Linked DNA regions of Homo sapiens: regions 1, 2, 3, 4, 6 and 7 are each linked to region 5. Evidence: promoter capture Hi-C in human tissues and cell types (Jung and others, 2019). All regions are on one chromosome and are shown on one strand. Each heading gives the region's core, a stretch centred on a gene start or on the middle of the fragment in contact. The rest is flanking DNA. Distances are from core to core; before and after follow the strand shown. Region 1 holds the start of ADAT3 (adenosine deaminase tRNA specific 3). Region 2 overlaps BTBD2 (BTB domain containing 2). Region 3 overlaps GNG7 (G protein subunit gamma 7). Region 4 has its middle 6.4 kb from the start of CSNK1G2. Region 5 holds the start of LINGO3 (leucine rich repeat and Ig domain containing 3). Region 6 overlaps GNG7 (G protein subunit gamma 7). Region 7 holds the start of GNG7 (G protein subunit gamma 7).

The links. Contacts are between HindIII fragments. The study calls those that stand out against the background at their distance.
Region 1: a contact is called between the fragment with the promoter of ADAT3 here and the fragment with the promoter of LINGO3 in region 5, in 8 of the 25 tissues and cell types used here (IMR-90 fibroblasts, adrenal gland, bladder and 5 more).
Region 2: a contact is called between a fragment that was not itself captured here and the fragment with the promoter of LINGO3 in region 5, in 2 of the 25 tissues and cell types used here (adrenal gland and spleen).
Region 3: a fragment that was not itself captured here is called in contact with the fragment with the promoter of LINGO3 in region 5 in 2 of the 25 tissues and cell types used here (spleen and stomach).
Region 4: a fragment that was not itself captured here is called in contact with the fragment with the promoter of LINGO3 in region 5 in 2 of the 25 tissues and cell types used here (pancreas and spleen).
Region 6: a fragment that was not itself captured here is called in contact with the fragment with the promoter of LINGO3 in region 5 in 5 of the 25 tissues and cell types used here (dorsolateral prefrontal cortex, pancreas, spleen and 2 more).
Region 7: a contact is called between the fragment with the promoter of GNG7 here and the fragment with the promoter of LINGO3 in region 5, in 4 of the 25 tissues and cell types used here (IMR-90 fibroblasts, mesenchymal stem cells, spleen and 1 more).

The regions. Positions count from the first base shown.
Region 1 is chr19:1,904,113-1,907,793 of GRCh38, forward strand. It overlaps ADAT3 (adenosine deaminase tRNA specific 3), which reads left to right and starts at 1,287. Exons shown (of 2, transcript NM_138422.4): 1 at 1,287-1,327. SCAMP4 (secretory carrier membrane protein 4) reads left to right here and starts at 1,287. Exons shown (of 7, transcript NM_079834.4): 1 at 1,287-1,327. RefSeq lists enhancers at 281-340, 621-680, 1,701-1,790 and silencers at 1,011-1,340, 1,391-1,540. The HindIII fragment of the contact is 31,876 bases long and covers 1-3,681 here.
Region 2 is chr19:1,990,297-1,994,063 of GRCh38, forward strand. It overlaps BTBD2 (BTB domain containing 2), which reads right to left. Exons shown (of 9, transcript NM_017797.4): 3 at 2,724-2,880; 4 at 421-526. LOC124904610 (a long non-coding RNA gene) reads left to right here. Exons shown (of 2, transcript XR_007067086.1): 2 at 1-74. Among named protein-coding and RNA genes, the nearest start is that of BTBD2, 24 kb to the right of the region's middle. RefSeq lists an enhancer at 3,016-3,516. The HindIII fragment of the contact is 3,931 bases long and covers 486-3,767 here.
Region 3 is chr19:2,664,183-2,667,469 of GRCh38, forward strand. The region is part of intron 1 of GNG7 (G protein subunit gamma 7); the gene reads right to left. Among named protein-coding and RNA genes, the nearest start is that of MIR7850, 35 kb to the left of the region's middle. The HindIII fragment of the contact is 9,228 bases long and covers 1-3,287 here.
Region 4 is chr19:1,932,975-1,936,558 of GRCh38, forward strand. No RefSeq gene overlaps it. Among named protein-coding and RNA genes, the nearest start is that of CSNK1G2, 6.4 kb to the right of the region's middle. The HindIII fragment of the contact is 4,225 bases long and covers 1-3,584 here.
Region 5 is chr19:2,306,308-2,309,732 of GRCh38, forward strand. It overlaps LINGO3 (leucine rich repeat and Ig domain containing 3), which reads right to left and starts at 1,847. Exons shown (of 2, transcript NM_001101391.3): 1 at 1,769-1,847. The HindIII fragment of the contact is 18,961 bases long and covers 1-3,425 here.
Region 6 is chr19:2,643,766-2,647,573 of GRCh38, forward strand. GNG7 (G protein subunit gamma 7) reads right to left here. Exons shown (of 5, transcript NM_052847.3): 2 at 2,459-2,515. Among named protein-coding and RNA genes, the nearest start is that of MIR7850, 15 kb to the left of the region's middle. RefSeq lists an enhancer at 1-171. The HindIII fragment of the contact is 9,525 bases long and covers 1-3,808 here.
Region 7 is chr19:2,701,254-2,704,615 of GRCh38, forward strand. It overlaps GNG7 (G protein subunit gamma 7), which reads right to left and starts at 1,441. Exons shown (of 5, transcript NM_052847.3): 1 at 1,393-1,441. RefSeq lists a silencer at 1,337-1,726. The HindIII fragment of the contact is 6,266 bases long and covers 1-3,362 here.

The DNA of each region.
Region 1 (3,681 bases), core at 37-2,536, 400 kb before region 5:
CAAAATTAGCCAGGTGTGGTGGCGTGTGCCTGTAATCCCAGCTACTCGGGAGGCTGAGGCAGGAGAATCACTTGAATCTGGGAGGTGGAGGTTGCGGTGAGCTGAGATCGTGCTGCTGCACTCCAGCCTCGGTGACAAGAGCGAGACTGTCTCGAAAAAAAAGAAAAAAGAAAGAACGTTTTAGAGCTAATCTGGAGACAGGCCAAGCACGGAGACCCACCTGCAAAATCCCAGAGATTTCCTCAAGGTGGTCTGCAACCCGGCCCTTATTAGGATGAGGCCAGCCTGCGCTTTTAAGCCACCAAAATTCATGAACACACAGAGCTTATAATCAGCACCTCCCCTGCACACCCACCATTCCCAGTTCCCCTTTTTTAGCCCCTCACCCCAGCCTCAAGTTTGAAGGGGTTTCTGGAGGCCTAAACCAGCTGCCTCCCTGCTGCGAACTCTGAAAGGAAGTCACCTTCCTTTCACTGCACTTTTTCCTCCTTACTGGTTTGTCAAGACTCTGGCATCGGAGCCTGAGCTGGTTACAGCCAGGCACTGTCAAGCTGTTGGGGGAGGGGATGACAAATTCCCTCCCGTTGAGAACCACTTGGTTAAACCTGTCCAACTGGAAGGAGTAACAAATTGCTCATAAAATATGCATGTTTTGGTGAAACCCCTTCTCTACTAAAAGTACAAAAACTAGCCAGAAATCGCTTGAACCCAGGAGGTGGAGGTTGCAGTGAGCCTAGCACTGCACTCCAGCCTGGGTGACAGACTGAGGCTACGTCTCAAAAAAAAAAAAAAAAATGTGCTTGTTTGGCCCAGGAGAGGCAAGAGGTCTTCTTCACCTACGTTACTGGTGAGAAAACTCAAACCTGAGGGCGGCCCACGCCGGAGTGCAGTAACAGGCAGAACTGGAACCTGGCCCCATCCCGGACTCAGGGGACGGGTGTCATATACCCCCTCTGCCTCATCCTTCCCACTCTGCTAACCTTCCAAAGATCCCCCGGGTTCCGAGTTTTCCCTGGCCGCTTGATGGGATTCGAACCTGCAAACTCAGCGCTCGCCCAGCGCAGCGGCCCCGCCTCTCCTCCCCTCCCGCCGCCCGGAGGTCATGTGAGCGCAGTGCCGGAGCGGGGCGGGGCGAGGCGGCGGCGCGCAGTGCCTACTAGCAATTGTAGTCCTTGCCCCACCTTGGCCTGGCGAAGATCCCGCCCCTGGAACTACGCTCCCGTCGTGCTCCGCGGCTCCAGGCGGAGACGAGGCGGGGTGAGGTGGGTTGGGCCGGGCCGGTTGCTAAGACTTGGCGAAGCGCTGCGCTCGCGCCCGGATCCCTCAGGTAAGCGCGCGGCCCCGAGGTCTCGGGTTCTCCAGGCTCAGACTTCCCCAGAGGGGGAGTAGGGGCTGACATGGGGGGTCTCGGCGGTGAGGGGCGCCGGCCGTTTGTGGGGAGAAAACGGGGGGCCCAGGCCAGCCTCGCGCGCGTCTCGGGCGGGCCGGTGGGCGACGCGGGGAGGCGGCGCGAATGCGCGTGCGCGCGCGCGCGCGGCGCTGGCCTGGGGGAAGCCTCAGGACCGCGCTCCCCCGGGCCTAGCGCCTTTCTGCGCGTGTGCGCCCTTATGGTCGGTGCGGGAGACCCCGTATCCTCCAGCTGCTTCCGGTGGCCCTTCCTCAGGTCATGTCCCGCAGTCCCCTGCCTCTGAACCGCGCTCTCGCGAGTTTCCGTAGCCTTCGCGTCCTTCCTCCCCAGCTCTGATTCGCCTTTATGTGGAGATTCCCCTAGGCCTTGGTACATCCCCAGAATTGACCATCGTTCCTCATCGTTACCTAGAGTATGAGTTTTTCAGGTTTTTGTATCACAGGCCCCCAGTTATCTCCCACACACTACCCCGAGGACCGAGGTTCCCCGCTGTCTTGCAGAGAAGGCCTCCTTGTAGGGTGGCCAGAAACAGAGGATCGACTCCGTGGAAACAAGGACGGCTGGGTGCAGTTCCTCACCCTATAACCCCAGCACTTTGGGAGGCCAAGGCGAGTGGATCACCTGAGGTCCGGAGTTCGAGACCAGCCTGTCTAACATGGTGAAACTCCATCTCTGCCAAAAATACAAAAATTAGCTGGGCGTGGTGTCACGCGCCTGTAAAACCAGCTACTGGGGAGGCCAAGGCAGGAGAATCGCTTGGACTTGGGAGGTGGAGGTTGCAGTGAGCCAAGATGGCACCATTGTACTCCAGGCTGAGCAAGCTAGCAAGACTCACTCTCCAAAAAAAAGAAAAAAAGATTTTTTTTTAATAAGCCAGGCATGGTGACACATGTCTGTGGTCCCAGCTACTTGGGAGGCTGAGGCAGGAGGATTGCTTGAGCCCCGGAGGTTGAGGCTGCAGTGAACTGTGATGGCACTACTGCATTCCAGCCTGGGCAACAGAGCGAGACCCTGTCTCTAAATAAATAAATAAAATACATACGTGTAGCGCCGGCCGTGGTGGCTCACGCCTGTAATCCTAGCACTTTGGGAGGCCAAGGCGGGTGGATCACGAGATCAGGAGATCAAGACCATCCTGGCTAACACGGTGAAACCCTGTCTCTACTAAAAATAAAAAAAAGCCAGGCATGGTGGTGGACGCCTGTGGTCCCGGCTACTCCCAAAGGAGGCTGAGGCAGGAAAATGGTGTGAACTCAGGAGGCAGAGCTTGCAGTGAGCCAGGATCGTGCCACTGCACTCCAGCCTGGGCGACAGAGTGAGACTCCGTCTCAAAAAAAAAAAAAAATTGTGTGTGTGTGTGTGTGTGTGTAAAGAAACAAGCCCCAGGCTGGGCGCAGTGGCTCACGCCTGTAATCCCAGCACTTTGGGGGGCCTAGGCAGGTATATCACAAGGTCAGGAGTTCGAGAGCAGCCTGACCAATATGGTGAAATCCCACCTCTACTAAAAATATAAAAAATTAGCCAGGCATAGTGGTGCACATCTGTTGTCCCAGCTGCTTGGGAGGCTAAGGCAGGAGAATTGCTTGAACCAGGGAGGCAGAGGTTGCAGTGAGCCAGGATCGCGCCACTGCCCTCCAGCCTGGGGGACAGAGTGAGACTGTCCCAAAAAAAAAAAAGCCCCCACGCAGACTATTGGTGTGCCCTGGAACTGAGCATTAGCTGTTCCCTCTCCGAGTTCTCTCCCCTACTTCCCCAGCCTTCCAGGCTGGGCTGTGGGTCACTGCCTCCGAGGAGCCCTCCTGGATTCTGCTGAAGATGGTCAGGCCCCTCCATCCCCCCATTTTCTCTTATGTACCTGACAGCCCTGCCTTAAAAAAAAAAAAAAGGTAGAGCAGGAATTCCCATTTCACAGGGGTGGAAGCCGAGGCTTGGAGGAGTCAGGACTGGTGCCTGAGTTCTCGCAGTCAGGAATTGACCGCGCTGGGCTGAACGCCTCTAGGGCAGGTTGGGGACTGGGTGTGTTTTCTGGGTGGACATACCCAGGTCCCGGCGCGGACCTTGGCCTCCTCATCTGTGGGCTTAGATAAAGGCCTCCCAGCCTCCTGTTCACCAGGGTTGTCACCACGCAGGGTCTGACTCACCTGCCTGGAGCTATGCCGGTTCCCAGCCCAGGCTGGCGGCCGTGTTCTGCTGGGACCTGGGACCTGGGCTGCCTGCCCTCCTGAGGGGTCCCAGTGGTCGGTCGCCTGCCTTCTGGGTGGGTGTGGTAGAGG
Region 2 (3,767 bases), core at 1,201-3,700, 320 kb before region 5:
GGGCTGGCAACTATGGCCCGTGGCCCAAATCTGGCCCTGTGAGTGTGTTTATAAATAAAGCTTTATCAACACAAGACCACGCCCCTTCATTTTCCTCGGCTGTGGTTGTTTTTAAGCCACAAGGACAGACTTGAGTAGCTTTGACAAAAGCTGTTCAACAGCAAAGTCAAAGCCATGGACCATCGGAGGACGAGATGGTCACCATCAGCTGGGATGGTGGGCTCTGGCCTGTGGCCTCCTGGCCAAGGCCCCGGACTCCCGTGGGGCTGTGCTAGGACCCAAACTCCTGACCTGCTGCAAGTGGTGAGGCCCCAGCTCACCTGTGCAACTCCCCCAGGCCCAAAGCTCCCACTGTCAATCCCCGGACCCTCCCGCCGAGGCCCCGCTGGGATTCCCACACCTGGGCTCCTGGGCCCTTACCCAGGTCAATGTCGGTGAAGCCCTCCGCGGTGATGGCGTCTGCAGTGTTTTTGTCGATGTTCTCCAGGCACAGGCTGGCCAGCTGCGGTTCATCGAAGAGTCGCGCCTGGCAAGAGACATCGACGGGGGGCGCGGTGGGGACATCAGCACCCAGCCCTCGGCAGATCCCCAGTGCGGGGCCGGTTCAAATGCAGCCCTGACCACACGGGCCTTCCTGAGCGTGGCCAGGAGCCACCAGGGTCTCAGCCACCAGGCCGGCCCTGTTGTGGGCCCAGAGACTCCCCTGTGACCGCTGACTGGGGCGGGAGAGTTGGGGAGTTCCCTCTCAGGACCTCAGAGGCCAAGGAAGGAAGAAAAAGATGCTCAGGTCCCTGTCGGCAGGGCCTGCTGCTTTAGGCAAAAGGGGCGTTGCAGCTGCACTCGGGGGGCAGCAGGGCCCAGGACCCCGAGTGGCAGGCAGAGGTGAGGTGGCCGGGGCCGACCGGTGAAGCTTCCCGACCACAACATGCCCTTGGCCACTTGTGGTGGGAGGGGCCGTGTCCCCGGCAGCTCCATCCCAAGACAAACAGCAGACATGACTTCTGACAGTCAGGTGACAGAGCTGGAGGACGCCTGTGCTCTTAGGGAAACAGAGGCTTAGTTAGTGGAAGGTGCTGGAAGGGCCTATGCCAGCAGGGACCCGGGCAGGCCTTTCTGCGGGCATCCTCCCGAGGACACCTCTCAAGTGGGTTCGTAGTGGTTTTAGGGGCAGGGAGGCTGAGGCAGCCACAAGATGAAGCCCGGGGAGTGAGCTCCAGCCTCCTCTCAGCTCAGGCAGAGGCCTCTCCAGCAAGGCGACCAGATGACCCGGACAAGAAACCCCTCCCTGTGGGAGTCCGGGATGCCCTGCATCTGACCTGCCAGGATGGAGGGGGAGAAGGTTCTGGGTCCTTTCCAGGATGCCGGACCCCCAAAGCCCATTGGAGGACCCAGTGCCGCTGTCCCCTCTGGCCACCCTCCACCCCCGACCAGGAGCTCACGGCTCCCAAGCGGCCGTCCACCCGTACTGGCCCCACGTCCTCTCAGCCTCCCTGGCCTGCACGACCTCCCCAGCCCCCGCCCTTTGGGCTGCACAGAGCCCAACTGGGGTCCCCTGAGATCCCTGGCCCTGCTCTGTCTACCTGACATTTCCTTAGAGAGAGAGAGAAAGTTCTCTCTGGTTTTTTTTTTTCTTTTTTTTTAGCCAGGCGCGGTGGTGGGGGCCTGTAATCCCAGCTACTGTGGAGGCTGAGGCAGGAGAATCGCTTGAACGCTGGAGGCGGAGGTTGCAGTGAGCTGAGATCGTGCCATTGCACTCCAGCCTGGGCAACAAGAGAAACCCCGTCTCAAAAAAAAATTATTTTACTTTTTTTTTAGAGACAGGGTCTCACTCTGTCACTCAGGCTGGAGTGCAGTGGCGCCATCTCCACTCACTGCAGCCTCAACCTCCCGGGCTCAGGCAATCTTCCTGCTTTGGTCCCCCAAGTAGTTGAGATTCCAGACATGCACCAGCGTGCTTGGCTAATTTATGAAATATTTTTTTTTAGTAGAGATGAGGTTTCACCATGTTGGCCAGGCTGGTCTCAAACTCCTGACCTCTGGTGATCTGCCTGTCTCAGCCTCCCAAAATGCTGGGATTACAGGCATGAACCACAGTGCCCGGCCTGAATCTTTTTTTAATTTTTTGTAGAAACGGGGTCTCTCTATGTTGCCTAGGCTGGTCTAGAACTCCGGGCCTCAAGCAATCCTCCCTACTTGGCCTCCCAAAGTGCTGGGGTTACAGGCGTGAGCCACCGCACCCTGCCAATAATTTTTTGAAGTATCACGGAAAAGTCCAAAACACATCTTTTTTTTTCAGGTGGAGTCTCGCTCTGTCATGCACGCTGGAGTGCAGTGGTGCGATCTCGGCTCACTGCAACCTCCACCTCCCAGGTTCATGCAATTCTCCTGCCTCAGCCTCCCAAGTAGCTGGAATTACAGGTGCCCGCCACCACGCCCGGCTCTTTTTTGTGTTTTTAGTAGAGATAGGATTTCGCCATGTTGGCCAGGCTGGTCTGGAACGCCTGAGCTCAGGTGATCTGCCCGCCTCGGCCTCCCAAAGTGCCGGGATTACAGGCGTGAGCAACCACGCCCGGCCCAAAACACATTTTACTACCAGGCAGGAGCCTGCTGCCTCCCGGGCCCGCCCCCGGCCCCGCCTCCGCCTCCAGCCTCGGTCCGCCCCACCCCGGCCCCGCCTCCAGCCAGGCCTGGCCCCGCCCCCGCCTCGTACCGGCCCCGCCCACCTGCGTGAGCAGCATGAAGGCGTTGTCGGCTCGCAGGTTCTTCTTCAGGAACTCCACGCAATGGGCCTCGAGCGCTGGCACCGCGTACTTCTTGGCGGTGTATAGCGTGGTCATCACCGTCTCCGGGCCAATCTGCACCTCGTCCGAGTAGAGAAACCTGCAGAAGCAACGCGGGTGGCCGTGAGGTGGGACCGCCATGCCCGCCCCCAGGGGAGAGCGTCAGGGGACCACTCAGACCGTTAGACTCGGCCACCGGCCCTTGAGCTGGCAGGACCCAAACACCCACATCAGGTTCCCCGAGGAACCTTCCAGAATTAGCCCCTGTCCGTTGCCCTCTGACATAGGGACACGACTTGGCAAGGTGGTCACCCATGAAAACGAGCAAGAGGCTGAACCCATCTACACAGCACACACCCGGAAGCGTCTATATGGCCTGTCTTGTTCTGCCCGGGATGCCCCAGGAGAGGGCACTGGGAGCTGGGTGTCTCCTTCTTGGGCACCTTTTCCATGAGGAACTGTTGGTTCCCCACCTCGGGCACCACCGAAAACCTCAACCACTTCTGGGTGGATCATAGAACCCAACACGCTAATTAGGATCATGGATAATCATGGACGCTATTACCACCTGCCAGCGAGGGGCCCACACGACACTGAATACAGATCAGAAGTTGGGCCGATCAAAAATAGAAGCACAGGCTGGGCCTGGTGGTTCACGCCTGTAACCCCAGCACTTTGGGAGGCTGAGGCGGGCAGATCGCCTGAGGTCAAGAAGTGCCAGACCAGCCTGGCCAACATGGTGAAACCCCGTCTCTACTAAAAATACAAAAATTAGCTGGGCGTGGTGGTGGGCGCCTGTAGTCCCAGCTACTTGGGAGGCTGAGGCAAGAGAATCGCTTGAACCTGGGAGGCAGATGTTGCAGTGAGCTGAGATCTCGCCACTGCACTCCAGCCTGGAGACAGAGCGAGAATCCGTCTCAAAAAAAAAAAAAAAAAAAAAAAAAAAAAAAAGCAGCACAGGCCGGCCTGGTGGTTCACGCCTGTAAT
Region 3 (3,287 bases), core at 440-2,939, 360 kb after region 5:
GACATTCTGCCAGCACGTGGCAGGGGCGTCTTGTCTCGTTGGAGGCTGGATATAGAAACACAGCCCTGTCCTTTGTGCCATCGCTGAAGTTGTCAACCTCAGCCTTCACTCATCACCACAGCAACCATCTAAATATGTCACCAGCAAAGTGCTGATTGCAAAGGAAGGGGGCAGAGAGGCCTGGACGGGCTCTCACCCAGGTGCAGGCGCAGGGGAGGTGCCGGGACTGGGGGAGTGACGTGGCTGCTTCAGAGCCACGAGACTGATGACGGCCAGGCCGGGCGTGACCTGGAACAGGCTCCACTGCACCCTGGGGCACACAGAACAAAGGGGCAGGCCTGCTTGACCCTGAGGGTTCAAGGTCTCTGTGAGCCGAGGTCAAGGAGGGGGAAGGAACAATCAGACGGTTGGCTCTGTGTCCTGCACCCTCAGTGCTCTAGAGACCCTCCTCACCCAGTCCTCTAGGTCACTCTGGGAGGATGGCCCCGGCTGACACCGTCTGCCCCATCGGGAATCTATTCTGGTGTCTACTGTGAGCAGGGAGCAAACTCATTTTTTTGCCAGTTAATGCAAGGTCTCTCCCCTGGAAACCGTGGACATTCAGAGCTGGGTCATTCTCTAGGGTGCAGCTGTCCCGGACACTGCAGGGTGCTGAGCAGTGTCCCTGGCCTCCACCCACTCCACGCCACGACCATCCTCAAGTTGTGACAACGACAAATGTCCTCAGACAACACCCAGTGTCCCCTGGGGCAGAATCACCCTCAGTTGACACCCCCTGAATTAGGAAATTCCACGGACCCCCAAGATACTCTGTCCCCTGATCTTCTGTCCTGCTGAGGTCCCAGGAGGCTGCACACATTGAAATCCACACCTTTAGTTGGGGGGAGGGAGAGAGGAGGTGAATCCCACGAGCTGGGGTCCCCTGGTTTACACCGTCTGCCCCATCAGGAGTGTGTCCTGGTGAGCAGGAAGCAGACTCCATTTCTTCTCCAAATAATGAATGCTGAGTCTCTCCTCCCAGGCACGGTGGACACTGGGGCTGTACCATTCTCTGGGATGGAGCCGTCCTGAGCACTGCAGCACGCTGAGCGGCATCCGTGACCTCCAGCCACTGCATGCCCGGAGCACTTCTCAATGGTGACAGCCACAAATGTCCCCAGACATGGCCCAGTGTCCCCTGGGGGGGGGGGGGCAGGATCACCCTGCCGTGCTGGACAGTCCTCGCCACACCCCACCTCTTGGAACTGGAATGTCTGGTGAGACGGGCAACAAGGATTTGGGAAGAGGGCCATGCGGGACAAAAAAAAGAAAGAAAATGAGAACGAACGGATTTCTATTTCCCCTCAATGTGAAAATAGCTCCACTGAGTCCCGAGGAAGGATTGGGTGGGGACGTACGCTCTGGTATGGCCAAGGTGGAGTGCTGGACAAGAGCTACTCCATTCTGACTTCACGACTCGCTGTCTGGCTGGGTGACCTTCAGTCCCTTGCCACTGTCGCTGTGCCTCAGTTTCCCACTCTGTAGAATGCACATCGAAGCAGCATCCACCCTGTGAGACTGGTTTTGGAGATTACATAAATGAGTATCTATAAAATGTTTAAAGTGGTGTCTGAGCCATGGGTCATGGCACATACTGGCTTTATTATTTAGAACCTGGATTACCTCCTTTTATTATTCTTTTTCAATTTATTTTACTTATTTTTTGAGATGGAGTCTTGCTCTGTCATCCAGGCTAGAGTGCAGTGGTGCGAACTTGGCTCACTGCCTCTGCCTCCCGGGTTCAAGTGATTCTCCTGCCTCAGTCCCCCATATAGCCAGTATTAGAGGCGCCCGCCACCACGCCCAGCTAATTTTTGTATTTTTAGTAGAGACAGGGTTTCACCATGTTGGTCAGGCTGGTCTCGAACTCCTGACCTCAGGTGATCTGCCTGCTTCAGCCTCCCAAAGTGCCACCGTGCCCGGCTTATGTTTTAATTTTTATTGTATTTATTTATTCATTTTTATTTTGAGACAGAGTCTTGCTCTTGTCGCCCAGGCTGGAGTGCAGTGGCACGATCTCAGCTCACTGCAAACTCAGCCTCCCGGGTTCAAGGGATTCTCCTGCCTCAGCCTCCCGAGTAGCTGGGATTACAGGCACCTGCCAACATGCCCGGCTAATTTCTGTATTTTTAGTAGAGATGGGGTTTCGCCATGTCGGCCAGGCTGGTCTTAAACTCTTGACCTCAGGTGATCTGCCCACCTCAGCCTCCCAACGTCCTGGGATTACATAGGTGTGAGCCACCATGCCTGCTTTTTTAGTTTTTACTTTTCATAGAGATAGGATCTTGCTATGTTGCCCAGACTGGCCTTGAACTCCTGGGCTCAAGCGATCCTCCCTGCTCAGCCTCCCCAAGTGCTGGGATTACAAGTGTGAGCCACCTTGCCTGGCCAGATTACCTCCTTTCTGGACTAGACCAGAGCACAGCAAAGTGTTTCTGTCTAGGGCAGGATGTAAAAATTTTCAGCCTTACGGAACATATGTTCTCTGTTGCAGCTACACAGTTCTGCTGTTGTATTTTGAAAGCAGCCATAGACTATGCATAAATAAATGGGCATGGCCCATCGTGTGCCAATAAAACTTTATTTATAGTAACAGGTGGCCTGGATTTGCCCCCAAGGCCATTGGTTGAGACCCTCGCAAAACAGTCTAAGACAAAATAGCACCATTTCAGCAACTAAATACTCTCATCTAGGCAGTGTTCCAGTCTTCCATCCTGAAATTAGATGAGGGTCCTGTCAAAAAAGATTCACCTCCGATCCTCAACATCACACGGCAGAGTTAGCACAGAGCATCCCTTCACACAAAACACACACTCATCCGGGCGCGGTGGCTCACGCCTGTAATCCCAGCACTTTGGGAGGCTGAGGCGGGTGGATCACTTGAGGTCAGGAGTTCGAGACCAGCCTGGCTAACATGGTGAAACCCAACCCGTCTCTATTAAAAATACAAAAATCAGCCGGGCAAGGTGCTGCGCCTGTAATCCCGGATACTTGGGAGGCTGAGGCGGCAGAATCGCTTGAACCCGGGAGGCGGAGGTTGCAGTGAGCAGAGATCACGCCACTGCAACCCAGCCTGGGCCACAGAGTGAGACTCCCTCTCAAAAAACAAACAAACAAACAACAAAAATTTTCACAGCCCCAAGGTTTTGTTTCTTTGAAATGCAGAAAACGGCTGTTTCTTTTCTTACCATCTATCTTCTGTGCGTGAATACCTCACCTCTATGTGCTCGCCAGAAAACCTCGGCTGC
Region 4 (3,584 bases), core at 655-3,154, 370 kb before region 5:
AGATGGCAGCTGGGTTCCAAGCAGAAAGGACGCTGTTGAGTTCTTTTTTTTTTTTTTTTTTTTTTGAGACACAGTCTCACTCTGTCACCCAGGCTGGAGTGTAATGGCGCAGTCTCGGCTCACTGCAACCTCCACCTCCCAGGTTCAAGTGATTCTACTGCCTCAGCTTCCCGAGTAGCTGGGATTACAGGTGCCCACCACCACGCCCAGCTAATTTTGTATTTTTAGTAGAGACAGGGTTTCACCGTGCTGGCTAGGCTGGTCTCAAACTCCTGACCTCGGGTGATCTGCCCGCCTCGGCCTCCCCAAGTGCTGGGATGACAGGTGTAAGCACCATGCCCAGCCTACTGTCGAGCTCGTAAGACCCTCCCTCAGAAGTCTCAAGGCACCACTTCCCCTGCCTTCTGTTGCTAAAACAGGTCACAGGAGCAGCTACATTCAGGGGAGGGGAAATGAACTGTGTCTTTCCGTGGGAGGAGCAGCAAAGAATCTGTGACCATCACACCCAGCTTTTGAACCACTTCTTCTTTGTGTCTCAGTGTTTGTGGCATGCAGCATCCCTGTTGCCTGGGTCCAGGATGCCACCCTCCTACTGGGGTTGCAGCACCAAGGGGCTGGGCATTCCATCGAGCTGAGGGGTGGGGGCTCTGGATGGGAGGCTCCCTGGGGGGAGCTCACATCTTCCATGAAGCATCATGGTCATTGTTGCCCTGTCCTGCACCCTGTCCACTGCAGGCTGCCCTCTGTGGCTGGCCTTGGTGACAAGAGATGTGGGAGAGACCCTGGTCACCACCATGGGAGGAGTCCCCAGGCACCAGGGGCAAATGAACAGAGTGAATGCCAGGAGGACCATTTAGGTGCAATATGACCAAAAATAAGTTAAGTCCAAGTGGGCTGCATCATCAACAAGAACATCCCCCAGCCTCCATGAAACAGCCCAAAACCTGGAGCAAGACGGTTCCCTGACGCTGAGCGATGCCATTCACAGCAGCGTTCCTGAATACCCCCCATGCAGGCACTCACATGCTCACACACACAATACACAAACCAACACACACCACACACAGGCATGCCAAACACAGGCACACAAATGCACACCCCCCCATAGACCCACCGACGAACACACACACACACACCCAGATGCACAGGTGCGCACACACACCCACGCACACAAAGACCCAGAGACAGACATGTGCACACACATACATATGCACACATGTACGCAGATACATATGACACAAATGCATGAACACATGGACCACACATACCAACATGCCACCTCACACAGACACACCTAACACACACACACCCGTGCACACATGTACATGGACATACACACTGGAAAACAACAAACACATATACAAAATGCAGGCCGGTTGCGGTGGCTCATGCCTGTAATCCCAACACTTTGGGAGGCCGAGGCAGGGGGATCACTTGAGCCTGGGAAGTGAGGGCTGCAGTGAGCTATGATTGAATCTCTGCACTCCAGCCTGGGTGACAGAGGGAGACCCTGTCTCAGAAAAACAAAACACGAAACACAAAATATGACCGGGCGCAGTGGCTCGCGCTTGTAATCCCAGCACTTTGCAAGGCCGAGGTGGGTGGATCACAAGGTCAGGAGATCTAGACCATCCTGGCTAACACGGTGAAACCCCGTTTCTACTAAAAATACCAAAAATTAGCTGGGCGTGGTGGTGGGCGCCGGTAGTCCCAGGTACTCGGGAGGCTGAGGCAGGAAAATGGTGGGAACCCGGGAGGTGGAGCTTGCGCCACTGCACTCCAGCCTGGGCGACAGAGCGAGACTCCGTCTCAAAAAAAAAAAAAAACCCAAAATACAAATGCATGGACATGTATCCACACACACCAACATGTTACATCATAGACAGACACACAAAACACACAAACATACACCCATCCATGGACATACACACAGACACACACAAACATCAACACACAGCATCCCACACAGACACACAAACACACAGCCATGTACCCTCAAAGGACGCTGCAGGATGAGCCTTCATTCTCTGGGACAGCAGAGAAAGTAGACAAAGGAGAGAAACTTCTCTCAGAGTCACCCATCCTCTGACTGGATCCCGTGCCCCTGTGAAGAGGCAGATCCCAGTGCCCCACACTTGGCTCTGGGGCCACCCACTGCCGCCAGGCTCTGTCCCTGCGGTTGGTGGGGGTGAGGGCAGACCCTGCTCTGTGCTGCTTCCTCACCCACCAAAACTTCCTGACGTCGCCCTGTTCCGTTGGCTGCGCTGCATATGGGAATGCAGTGCTGGGCAGGCCCAGCCTCCCAGCTGGGAAGGGGTGTCGCCACTGGCTGCAAAGACAGGTCTTCTTTTCCCCCAAGTCTGTGTTTATGCCCTACTAGAGACTGTTGGGTGTAATTCCCAGAAAGTTCTGGAATGATCTAAAATGAGGAAATAGAAAAAAGTTGTAGAATCGGGCCAGGCGCAGTGGCTCATGCCTGTAAACCCAGCACTTTGGGAGGCTGAGGCAGGTGGATCACCTGAGGTCATGAGTTGGAGACCAACCTGGCCAACATGGCAACATGGGCAGACATCACCAATTAATCATCGAATGATGTTTCTCCTGACCTCCTTCCTCCTGTGTACAGGGTAGGCATCACCAATCAAGCAATGATGTTGGTTGACTGGGGAACGCTGCTGTTTGTCCTGCCTTCCTTCCTCTTGTGCACAGGGCAGACATCACCAATCAACCAATGATGCCCACACTGCTTCCCTCCCATGCACAAAGCAGACATCACCAATCAATCGAGCAGCACCAGGAGGAAACCAATTTGGCAGTTCAATCCGTCTTCAACTCTATCCTTTTATAGATAAGGTTGAGGCCCAGGGACCTGGTCAAGGGCAACTACAGGGCAGATCCCTCCTCCTCTTCCTGGGAATTAGCTTTGTCTCTTGTTCCTGGAGCAAATTCAGGAAAATTGCAAGGTCATGTACATTTTCAGCCCAGGGCATGAGTCACTTGATCCCTGCTGTCCAGAGCTGGACCCGGAGATGATGGCCAGGACTGTCCCCTTGCAGGGAGGCCACTGAGGCTGGCAGGGCCAAGACTGGGCAGTGAGCCACTCCAGGCGGGAAAGCCCTTTGTCACTGGAGCTGCTCTGAACGCTGCCGCCAAGTCGCAGGCAGCTGTTGTCATCTGCTCAGCGTCCTTCCCCTTCCCCGGCAACTACTCCTCCTGCTGTGGGGAACCTGGCCCACCCGACTCCTGTGTTCTCAGGGCGCTGCCCCTCGTGGAACCTGCCCTTCTGGTCACCAGGACATTGCCTAAACCAGGCCTGGCCAGTCATCTGGGAGGGGCCAATGCCAGACAATAAGAGACTTTCCTGGGATTTTATAGCGATCCTGGGAGAGAAGAGCTCTGTTTTATTTGGGGGTTGCTAAACTAAGCCACAGCTGCCACCACGGACGGAAGAAGCTTGGAGTGAAAGAATGAAGCCAAGGCACAGAGACGGAGAGACAAGGAGAGGGAGAGAGAGAGGGAAAGGTAGAGACAGAGAGAGATGTGGGGAGGGAGAGAGAGACAGAGAGATAGAGAGGTAGAGATAG
Region 5 (3,425 bases), core at 597-3,096:
GGTGAAGGGCGCTCTTTGGAGGCCCGAGATTGACATGTGGTGGTGGGCGGCTTGATGGGGCCCACCCGGGGCCAACTTTGCTCGCAGAGTTCTTCAAGAGGCTCTACCTGGTGACGAGGTAGTGACTCAGGGGGCGCCGGGGAATGACAGTGCTGTGGGAAGAGACATCAAACTGCCTTCTATTCCCACTCAGCAAGGCACCTTCAGGTCCCGGCTTACCCTGGGGGTGGACGGCTGAGGCTGAGGGAGGCCAGGCAGGGCTGCTGCCGTAACCATCGTGACCTGAGCATCTGTTTTATGGTGGCACCACACTGCAGCCGAGGTGGGCAGCATCTCATTTAATCCCATGTGGGGTGGATCTGAGAGAGGGGACGTCATTTGCCGGAAGTCACCGGTGAAGACCAGACAGGCAGGGCAGGGAAGGCTGAGTTGAACCCTCCTAAGCCCCCATCCCACCGCCCGGCTGCCCCCTTCCTGCCACCCCACATCATCGAGATGGGGACAGGAGCTGGGTCTACAGGGGAAGCCCGTGGGTTCTTCCCACTCAGATCCTGTCTCCGACGATGGCTGCTGCTTCGGCTCAGAGAACAGCCAGGGTAAGGCCATGCCGCGGCAGCCCACCCCACACCAGCCTCCTGATAAAGCCAGCACCACCCTCCCTGAACCTGTTTCCAGCCTGCGTCCTCCACCTGACCACTCACACCTCACACCTTCTGCATCCTCTCCAGGCCACTTCCAGGGAGCCCTCCTGGGTTGCTCTGGTTCTCACAGCTCTGTTGTCCCTGAAGGCTCCCCCCAGCCAAGCCCCAGATCGTCCCTCTGCAAATACCACTGCACAGCAGACGCCCGCTCCCCACCCCCGCCGGAGCAAGGGTGTCTGCAGCCTCGCTGCGTCCATGGTTTAGCCAGGGACCGCTTGCTAAAATGCAGCTTCTGGGGCACATCGCCTCAGAAGTTCTGACTCCTCAGAACTGGGGGGGCCGGGACACCGGCACCGTTAGCGCCCCAAGCACACGTTGAGAAACCCAGTTACATGGTGGTCTCCAGCGTAAGGACCCGGGGCTTTTCTTGTGCCCGGACCAAGGCACGAGGTGCTGCTCCCCTAAACTTGTTGAATGGGACTCAGGGCCTCCCCTGGCCAGGCCCCAGAGGCCCGGGAGGTGGCGGCACCCACTCAGGGTGCCCAGGCCCACCATTTCTGGTGCTATTCAGACGCCCCCAGAGCAGGGGGACTCAGCCCTATGCCCCCAGGTCCCTCCCCGCCAGGCCGGGCCGTCAGCTCCAGCGATGGAGCAGGCTCCGGTGTGGACCCCAGATACCCTTTGCGTCTTCCAGCTCCGCACCCCCAGGCTGGACCAGACCCGGCTCGGGGGAGACAGGGCAGGAAGGCGCGGGCTGCAGGCTCTATTCGGACGTTCCCCACACCCCAGACCCAACCAGTGCCCCCTTCATCTCCTCCTGGAGAGGAGCGCATCCTCCCAGCGTCCCCAGTGCCCCGGGGAGATGCCCACCCGATTCCCCGCTCCTTGGCGCCCCAGAGGAGGGGCGGGGGGCCCCAGGGTGGGGAGTTCGCCCCCAAAGTTTCCAGGGGGAGCGTCGGGGGCCTGGCAAGGAGCGATGAGCCCGGGAGGGGTGCGCGGGGCAATTTCCCCCGGCTGAGGATGGGGTCGCGGGTTGGGGGCTTTGGGCGGCAGGGTCGCAGGGTGCAGGTGAGGGGTCCCCAGGTCTGCGGGCGCGCCCCACGCCGGGCCCCGGCACGGCCACTCACCTGGGCGGCTCCGCCGCGGACACGGCGCGGGCTGCGGCGCGGGGGCCGCCCGGAGCCGACACGAGCAGCCGCCGCCGCCGCCGCCGCCGCCGCCGCCGCCTCCCGGGCTCCGCCGTGCGCGCCGCCGCCGCGCGCAACCGCCCGCCGGTCTCCTCGGCGCGCCTGGCGGGGGCGCGCGGGGGCTGCGCTGGGCCGCGTGCGCGGCGGCTGGGGCCGCAGGTGTGAGAGGCCACGTGGGCGCAGGTGCGGGGACACTGGGAGCGCGGGTGCAGAACCCCTCCGTGCGCATCCCGGGCGCTTCGTGTCCGAGGACCTCCTGTCCCCACGGCCTGGGTGAGCCTGCGGAGACGGCCGTGCCGTGCAATAAACGCAGGGGCACCCCAAGTGCAGCAGGTTGTTCCGTGTGGAACCTTCTGGAAGCTACCATCGCCTCCTCTGCCCCCCGTCCCCCACCCCTAGTCCAGGCCGCCACCATCTGCACCTGGACATCTGCCACAGCCCAGCCCAGGCCCATTCCTTATGTGGCCCTCAGAGGAAGCCCCTCAGAGGAAGCTTAGCCACTGGGCTCCAGAACCTGCCGTGATTCCCTATTGCCGTGAGGGTCCCGTCTGCACCCCACCTACCCTGGAATTTCTCTTTCTTTCGTTCTTTCTTTCTTTCTTTCTTTCTTTTTTTTTTTGAGATGGAGTCTTGCTCTGTTGCCCAGGCTGGAGTACAGCGGTGCCATCTTGGCTCACTGCAACCTCCGCCTCCTGGGTTCAAGCGATTCTCCTGCCTCAGCCTCCCAAGTAGCTGGGATTACAGGCACCCGCCACCACGCCCGGCTAATTTTTGTATTTTTATTAGAGACGGATTTTCAGCATGTTGGCCAGGCTGGTCTCAAACCCCTGACCTCGGGTGATCCACCCACCTCGGCCTCCCAAAGTGCTGGGATGACAGGTGTGAGCCACCGCCCGGCTGCCTGCACTGTTTGGTCTGCCGCACCACCTCCTTCCCCCTGGCCTGTCCTCACTCACTCTTTCCCGGGCTCCACCCCCTCAGCCTTCCTCAAACAGGCCAAGTCCCTCCAGTCCCAGGCCTTTGATCTTCGCTGTGCCCAGCTTGGACAGCCTTTCTCTCTGTCCCTCCATCGAGCAGCTTGGAGCCTCTCAGTTTGTCTAATGGGCTTGTTCCCCAATGTGCCTTCCGCCTAGCACACAGCAGCGCACACACCAAGTGCACTGCGAGTGCTCATGGAAAGTTTTTTACCTTTTTTTTTGTCTTTTTTTTTTTTTTTTTTTTTTGAAATGGAGTTTTGCTCTCGTCACCCATTCTGGAGTGCAGTGGTGCAATCTTGGCTCACTGCAACTTCCACCTCCCGGGTTCAGGCGATTCTCCTGTCTCAGTCTCCCAAGTAGCTGGGATTACAGGCGCCCATGACCATGCCTGGCTAATTTTTGTATTTTTAGGGGAGATAGAGTTTCACCATGTTGGCCAGGCTGGTCTCGAACTCCTGACCTCAGGTGATCCACCCGCCTCGGCCTCCCAAAGTGCTGGGATGACAGACGTGAGCTACTATGCCCGGCCCCTCACTGCATCTTCTAAAAGCCACATTTAGCCTCCCTGTCTCACAGATGAGCAAACCAAGGCTGGGAGATGCCATTTGTCCCAAGTGAGG
Region 6 (3,808 bases), core at 880-3,379, 340 kb after region 5:
GGTTCTAAGGGTTGCCATTCATTTCTACAGCTATGCAACCATCAGCATAATCTCAATGGGACGCTGTCATCGACTCCCAGAGCTGCCCCGATCCCAACCCCCCAGCCTCCAGGCGACCTCTGATCTGTCACCTTTTCTAGAATTTTCCTGTAAGTGGAATTGTACAATATGAAGTCCTTTACATTTTTATGTTTGGCTTCATAAATAAATATTATACATATATTTTATATCTACACTTTTTGCATCTACACTTTATTTTATTTTATTATTTCTGAGATGGAGTCTCGCTCTGTCGCCCAGGCTGGAGTGCAGTGGCGCAATCTCAGCTCACTGCAACCTCCGTCTCCCGCGTTCAAGCAATCCTCCCACCTCAGCCCCCCAAGTAGCTGGGATTACAGGTGCCTAACACCACACCTGGCTAATTTTTGTATTTTTAGTAGAAACGGGGTTTCGCCATGTTGGCCAGGCTAGTCTCAAACTCCTGACCTCAGGTGATCCACCTGCCTTGGCCTCCCAAAGTGCTGGGATTACAGGTGTGAGCCACTGCACCCGGCCTACACTTTATATATATATATATATATATATATATATATATATATATATATATATATATATAATGCTCTATCTATACATGCATCATGTTATTGAGATGTAATTCATATGACATACAGTGCACCCATTTAAAATGCATAATTCTTTCTGAGTATTATCTGCGGCACCAAAAAGAAGAAAAAAATCATAAAATAAAAAGAAAACGCACAATTCAATGGCATTTAGTACATTCAGAGTCCTGCAACCATCACCACTAATTCCAGAACATTCTAATTATGCCAAGAAGAAGAAACCCATCAACCATCACTTCCCATGCCCCTCCCAGTCTCGGCACCCACGCATCCCCTCCCTGCCTCTGTGGATCGGCCCGTCCTGAACCTTTTGTAGAAAGGGGATCACATGCTGTGTGGCCTTTTGTGTCTGGCATCTCTTACTGAGCGTGACGTCCTCAAGGTACATCCACACTGTGGCCTGTGTCAAAGCTTCATTCCTTTTCATGGCTGAGTAACACTCCATGGTGTGGATGGAGGATGTTCTGCTGATCCATTCACCCATTGATGGACATTTGGAGTCTTTGCCTTATTGCTAAATTTGAACATATTCTTGACTTTTGAGTACATCTGTTTCTGAATTACCTCTCATGACCATTGACTACTAAGGATGAGACCAAAATGATTTATACTGGGCTTAGCTAAAATATGCATTTTTAAGGTACACATTACATGCCATAAAATTCAAGTGAAGTGTACTGCTCAAAGATACTTCAGGGCCGGGTGCAATGGTACGCACCTGTAATCCTGGCACTTTGGGAAGTCAAAGCAGGAAGATCACTTGAGCCACGGAGTTCAAGACCAGCCTGGGCAACAAAGCAAACCCTAACTCTTTTCTGTTTTTCTTTCTTTCTTTCTTTTCTCTCTCTCTCTCTCTTTTTTTTTTTTTTAGAAGGAGTTTCGCTCTGTCACCCAGGCTGGAGCGCAGTGGCATGATCTTGGCTCACTGCAACCACCATCTCCCAGGCTCAAGTGATTCTCGCACCTCAGCCTCCCGAGTAGCTTGGACTCTAGGCACCTGCCACCACGCCTGGCTGATTTTCCTATTTTTAGTAGAGATGGGGTTTCACCATGTTGGTCAGGCTGGTCTGGAACTCCTGACCTCAGGTGATCCACCCATCTCGGCCTCCCAAAGTGCTGGGATTACAGGCATGAGCCACCATGCCTGGCCAAAACCCTAACTCTTAAAAAAAAATTTTGTTTTAAGATTTTTAAGTAAGTTCACCAGGTTGCGGTCACCCCGACCCGACCATCGGGTCCATTTCCACGTCCCTGGCAAGTCTCTGGTGCACATTCATGTCCCCAGCCTCCAATCACCACGAGTCCCTTTCTGTCCCTATGGCTTTGCCTTTTCTGGACATTTCTGCCTTCCTTTCTACTTATTTTTAAATGGTTTCCTCTTCCTACATTTTAAAAGCCACTCATGATTCTCTAGGGAGAAAAACGAGGAGTAAATCAACAGAGGAGAGCTAAAGGGCCAGCGACGGGTCACTCTCCAGGTGCACAGGAGATACGGGTGAAGGCTCCTTAAAACTCCCTACCATGGCACGAAGACACCGGAAAGGCATGCAGCACCGCTGTGGGCTTCCCACCCTGACCCCATCCAGGGGCTCCGGCACCAGCAGGACCAGTGAGTGCCACGTTCCCTGCCTCGTGGGCGGGAAACTCTGCCAGGAGCTAGCAGCTGTTACCCACACCTGCTCCCCATTACCCATACTTGGTGGATACAAACAGCCGACAGACCCAGGTCAAGGCCAAGACGCCCGCCTTGACGGCAACCCCACGTCTTACATCCAGGGTGCAAAACAGCCAACTGAACCTCAAATCATAACAAAGAAATGCATTACAGCACCGACCTGTGCAGGAGGTCTCGCCGTCTGCAGCACCGAGATCCCGAAACCAAGCTCCACTCCCTGGAAAAAACACATAGAGTTAGTTTGGCGTGGCTTGGCTGGAGGCACCATGCATGTGTTGATGGGGTCAGCATTGGAGAACGGCCTCGCGCTTGTGATTGGACAAGGACAGAAATCATTTTGGCAACCAGGCGCGGTGGCTTAGGCCTGTAATCCCAGCACTTTGGGAGGCCAAGGCAGGTGGATCATGAGGTCAGAAGTTCGAGACCAGCCTGGCCAACATGGCAAAATCCCGTCTCTACTAAAAATATAAAAATTAGCCAACGTGGTGGTGGGTGCCTGTAGTCCCAGCTACTTAGGAGGCTGAGGCAGGAGAATCCCTTGAACCCGGGAGGCAGAGGGTGCAGTGAGCTGAGATCGAGCCACTGTCCTCCAGCCTGGGCAACAGGGCAAGACTCTGCTTCAAAAAAAAAAATAATAGAAAAGGAAAAAAGCAGAAGACAATTCACTGAAAATATTTATTATTAGAGATTTATGACGTTATTCCTAATACATTTTCCACGTGTTTGAAAACTGAACTGAGTGCAAGGATTGATGTTTCTACGGCTCTTCACAGTTTATCAAAAACATCTCTGTACATCTTTGGAGCCTCACGATCTCCCTGGGAGGAAGAAGAAGGGGCTGAGTTAGTCCCACGGTGCCCAGAAGGCACCCAACGTATCCAGGTCTGCCCAGGACTTTTCCAGAGTTAGCCTGAAAGTCCTGCATCCTGGGAAGTCCCTCAGCCCCAGCTCAGCTGGTACGGGCAGTCTCTGAGCAGAACCAGGCTGGCACCACATGCCTGAGGCTGCGACCAGGAACTCCCCACCTCGGGGGACTCGGGGGGACCCTGCCACCATCACTGACAGGACAAGCTCCAGGGCCAAAGCTGTTCCTGCAAACACCGTGGTTTATATGAAATCCTTGCCTCCCTCTGGAGCCTGGAATCCTGGCATGGGTCAGGCAGCAGGGGCAGCAGAACCAGCCCCCATAGGAACGTGGGTGCTGGGTCTCTGGGAGCCTCGCTGGTGACAGTGCTTTGGGCTGTTGTCCCAGCTCGCTGCTGGGGATGTGGCGTGTCCCGCGTGACACATGGGGAGAGGGCCTGGAAGCTGGGCCTAGAAGCCGGGCCTGGCCTCCCCGACCCACCCCACGAGCCTTTCCCTTCCCAAACTCTGCTCTGTGCTCCATGTCCTCTTGCTGGGACAAACCACAGTCACAAGGAGGCCTCATGCGGAGTCCAGGGTCCTCCCAGCGAGTCGCCCCATCTCTACAAAATGACCCCATCTTGACAAAAAAAATTTAAAAATTAGG
Region 7 (3,362 bases), core at 191-2,690, 390 kb after region 5:
AGTCCTCTCCAAATTCCTTTTAACTGGATCCTACCTGAGACACCTCCCCACACCCCGTTTTCCTCCTGATTAGTCAATGTCTAGCAAAACACCTGCCCCCAGGTGTCTCCAGCCTGGGACCTTACCCCCACCTCCCTTCTCACTAACTCACCCCAACTTCCTTCTCCCTGAACCCCCTTCCACCCCACACACTCACAAGCTCCCCATTTCCCCTGATAGCCCCCAGACCCTTTCTGGAACAAGCCTGACCCCCACCTGTATGCTCCAGCCACTCCCTGGCTCACCCCAGCTTTGTCCTTCTGCCCCTTTTCAGCTAACCCTAACCCCTGGGCCGTCAATCACACCCCCCCATCTTCACCAACCCCATTCCTCAGTCCTCTCCCCAGACAACCTCAACATCTAATTCCCTCTGCAGCCCCCTCTCCAATGAACCCCACTTCAAACTCCATCCCCAGCCCCCTCTCCAGCTCCCTGCAAACCTCAACCCCACTCCCAGCTCCCTCTTCAAAGAAGCTGCACCCTTGACTCAACCCCTGTTCCCCGCTCCAATTAACCTCAACCCCCAACACCATCCCCAGCGTCCTCCCCAGCTAACTCAGATTTCCAATTCCACTTCCAGCCCCCTCCCCAGCTAACCTCGACCTACAATTCCAGCCCCCTCCCCAGCTAGCTTGGACCTCCAATCCCACTCCAAGCCCCCTCGGCAGCTAACCTCGACCTGCGACTCTAGCCCCCTCCCCAGCAAACTCAAGACCTCCAATTCCACCACCAGCCCCTTCCTAGCTAACCTGGACCTGCAATTCCAGACCCCTCCCCAGCCAACTCAGACCTCCAATCCCGCTCCAAGCTCCCTCCCCAGCTAACCTCGACCTGCAACTCCAGTCCCCTCCCCAGATAACTCAGACCTCCAGTCTCACCCCCAGCCCCCTCCTCAGCTAACTCAGACCTCCAATCCCACCTCCAGCCCCCTCCCCAGCTAACCTGGACCTGCAACTCCAGCCTCCTCCCCAGCTGGCCCTGATTTCTAAGTGGAGTCCCAATGCCCAGACCCAATCCTTCCCCAGCTAACCTCGATCTGCACCCCCTGCCCCGTCCCCAGCTAACCTCGACCTGCAACTCCCGCCCCCTCCCCAGCTAGCCCTGAGCCCCAAGTGCAGTCCCAATCCCCAACCCCAGCCCCTCCCCAGCTAACTTCGACCCCCTAAGCGCAGCCCCGTCCCCAATTCCAACCCCAGCCTCCAGTTGCAGCCCGGGTCCCCAGACCCAGCCCCCCTCCTCAGCCGACTCCGACCCCCAACTCGGTCCGCAGCCGAATCCGAGCTGTCCCAGTCCCCTCTCCGGGACGCCGGCCGCGCCCTCACTTCCCCTGGCCCGGTTCGCGGGCGCCCTTACCTGCGCTCGGGCCCCGCGGCCGCCTCAGCCCCGCCGCGCAGCCGAACCCTCCGCCCCGGCCCGCGAGCGCTCGCTCCCCTCTGCGGGGGCGGGGCCGACACTCGGGGGGCGGGCCCTGGCGTCCCGGCAAGGCCAATCGCGAGCCCCGGCTGCGGGAGGCCGGAGCGGGGGCGGGGCGCGGGGCAGGCAGCGGGGTAGGCTGCGCCCAGGAGAGTGGGGCGGGGCTCCGGGCGCGGGCGGGGCCGGGGGCGGGGCGAAGAGCGGCTTTCCAGGGTGACTTCGTGACGTCAGGAAGGCGCGAGTAGTTTCGCGAGTTCGAATCCCGCGCTAGGTGAGCTGGTTCGAATCCTGCATGCCAGCTCCGGGGGCTCATTTGCTGGGGAAGAATGTCAGTGATCATAACTGCTGCACCGCTTTCTTGAAGACTTTATAGGCTCCCTCTCGTGGGACCCTCCGCATAAGGCCAGAAGGCGAGATTACTATCCACATTTTACAGAGGTGGAAACTGGGTCTCAGAAAGGTGAAACCTAAGGTCATTTGCCCAAGCCTGTCTCATCATTTCCAAGATTTCTCAGTTTCCTAACTCATGGCCCTGGATCCACAAATTCCTGAGCCCCAACACAGATGGAATGAACCAGAATCCTATAGGGAACTGGACCCTGAAATCTGTGTTTTGTTTAGTTTTCGTTTTGTTTTTGAGACAGGGTATCACTCAATTGCCGTGGCTGGACTGCAGTGGTGCAGTCATAGCTCACTGCAGCTTTGAAGTCCCAGGCTCAAGCAGTCCTTCCACCTCAGCCTTCCGGGTAGCTGGGGCCACAGGCACGCACCACCACATCCAGCTAATTTTTGTATTATTAGTAGAGACAGGGTTTCACCGTTTTGGCCAGGCTGGTCTCCAACTCCTGACCTCAGGTGATCCACCTTTCTTGGCCTCCCATAGTGCTGGGATTACAGGCGTGAGCCACCGTGCCTGGCCCTGGCTAATTTTTTTTTGTTAGAGATGGGGTCTTGCTATGTTGCCCAAACTGGTCTTGAACTCCTGGGCTCAAGTGATTCTCCTGCCTCTGCCTCCCAAAATGCTTGGATTACAGGCCTGGAATCTTCATTTTCCACAAGCTCCCTTGGGAATATTGGAAAACACTTTGTATGTCTCCAAAAGCAGTACACAGCCCTGGAAGGAAGATGGAGCCACCATATTCTGTGACCTCAGGGATTTCATCAGGCGCTGACACTGTGTGTCCTTGCCGCCCCACCTGAGCCCTGGGATTGGAGCTGCTGGCCAAAATCCAAGATAAACTTCCCCAGGGTTCCTGTCATCCCTGCAAGAACCTCCCTGCTCATCCTCTGGACTCCAGTGGCCTGCCCTGCAGGGCACAGAGAAACCTCCATCTCCCTGCTTGCCCTCCTCCAGGCTCTCCCCAGCTGGCATCCCCCAAGAGGAATGACTGTCTAGATAGAGCTTGGGAAGGGCACGGTGGCTCACGACTGTATTCCCAGCACTTTGGGAGGCTGAAGCGGGAGGATCGCTTGAGCCCAGGAGTTCAAGACCAGCCTGGCAACATACTGAGACCGCAACTCTACAAAAAAATTAAAATATTAGCCAGGCCTGGCGGCGCACACCAGTAGTCCCAGCTACTTCGGAGGCGAAAGCAGGAGGATCGCTTGAGCTTAGGAGGTTGAGGCTGCAGTGAGCTTTGATCACACCACTGCACTCCAGCCTGGGCGATAGAGTGAGACTCTGTCTCAAAAAAAAAAAAAAAAAGTGTTAAATACACAATGCAATATGATTCGGCCATAACAAAGAATAAAACCCTGTCATTTGCAGCAAAATGGATGGGACTGGAGGTCATTATATTAAGTGAAAAAGTGAAATAAGCCAGACACAGGAAGACAAATAGGGCATGTTGTCACTGATACGTGGGAACCAGAGAGTTGATCTCATGGAGGTAGAGAGTAGAATGATCAAT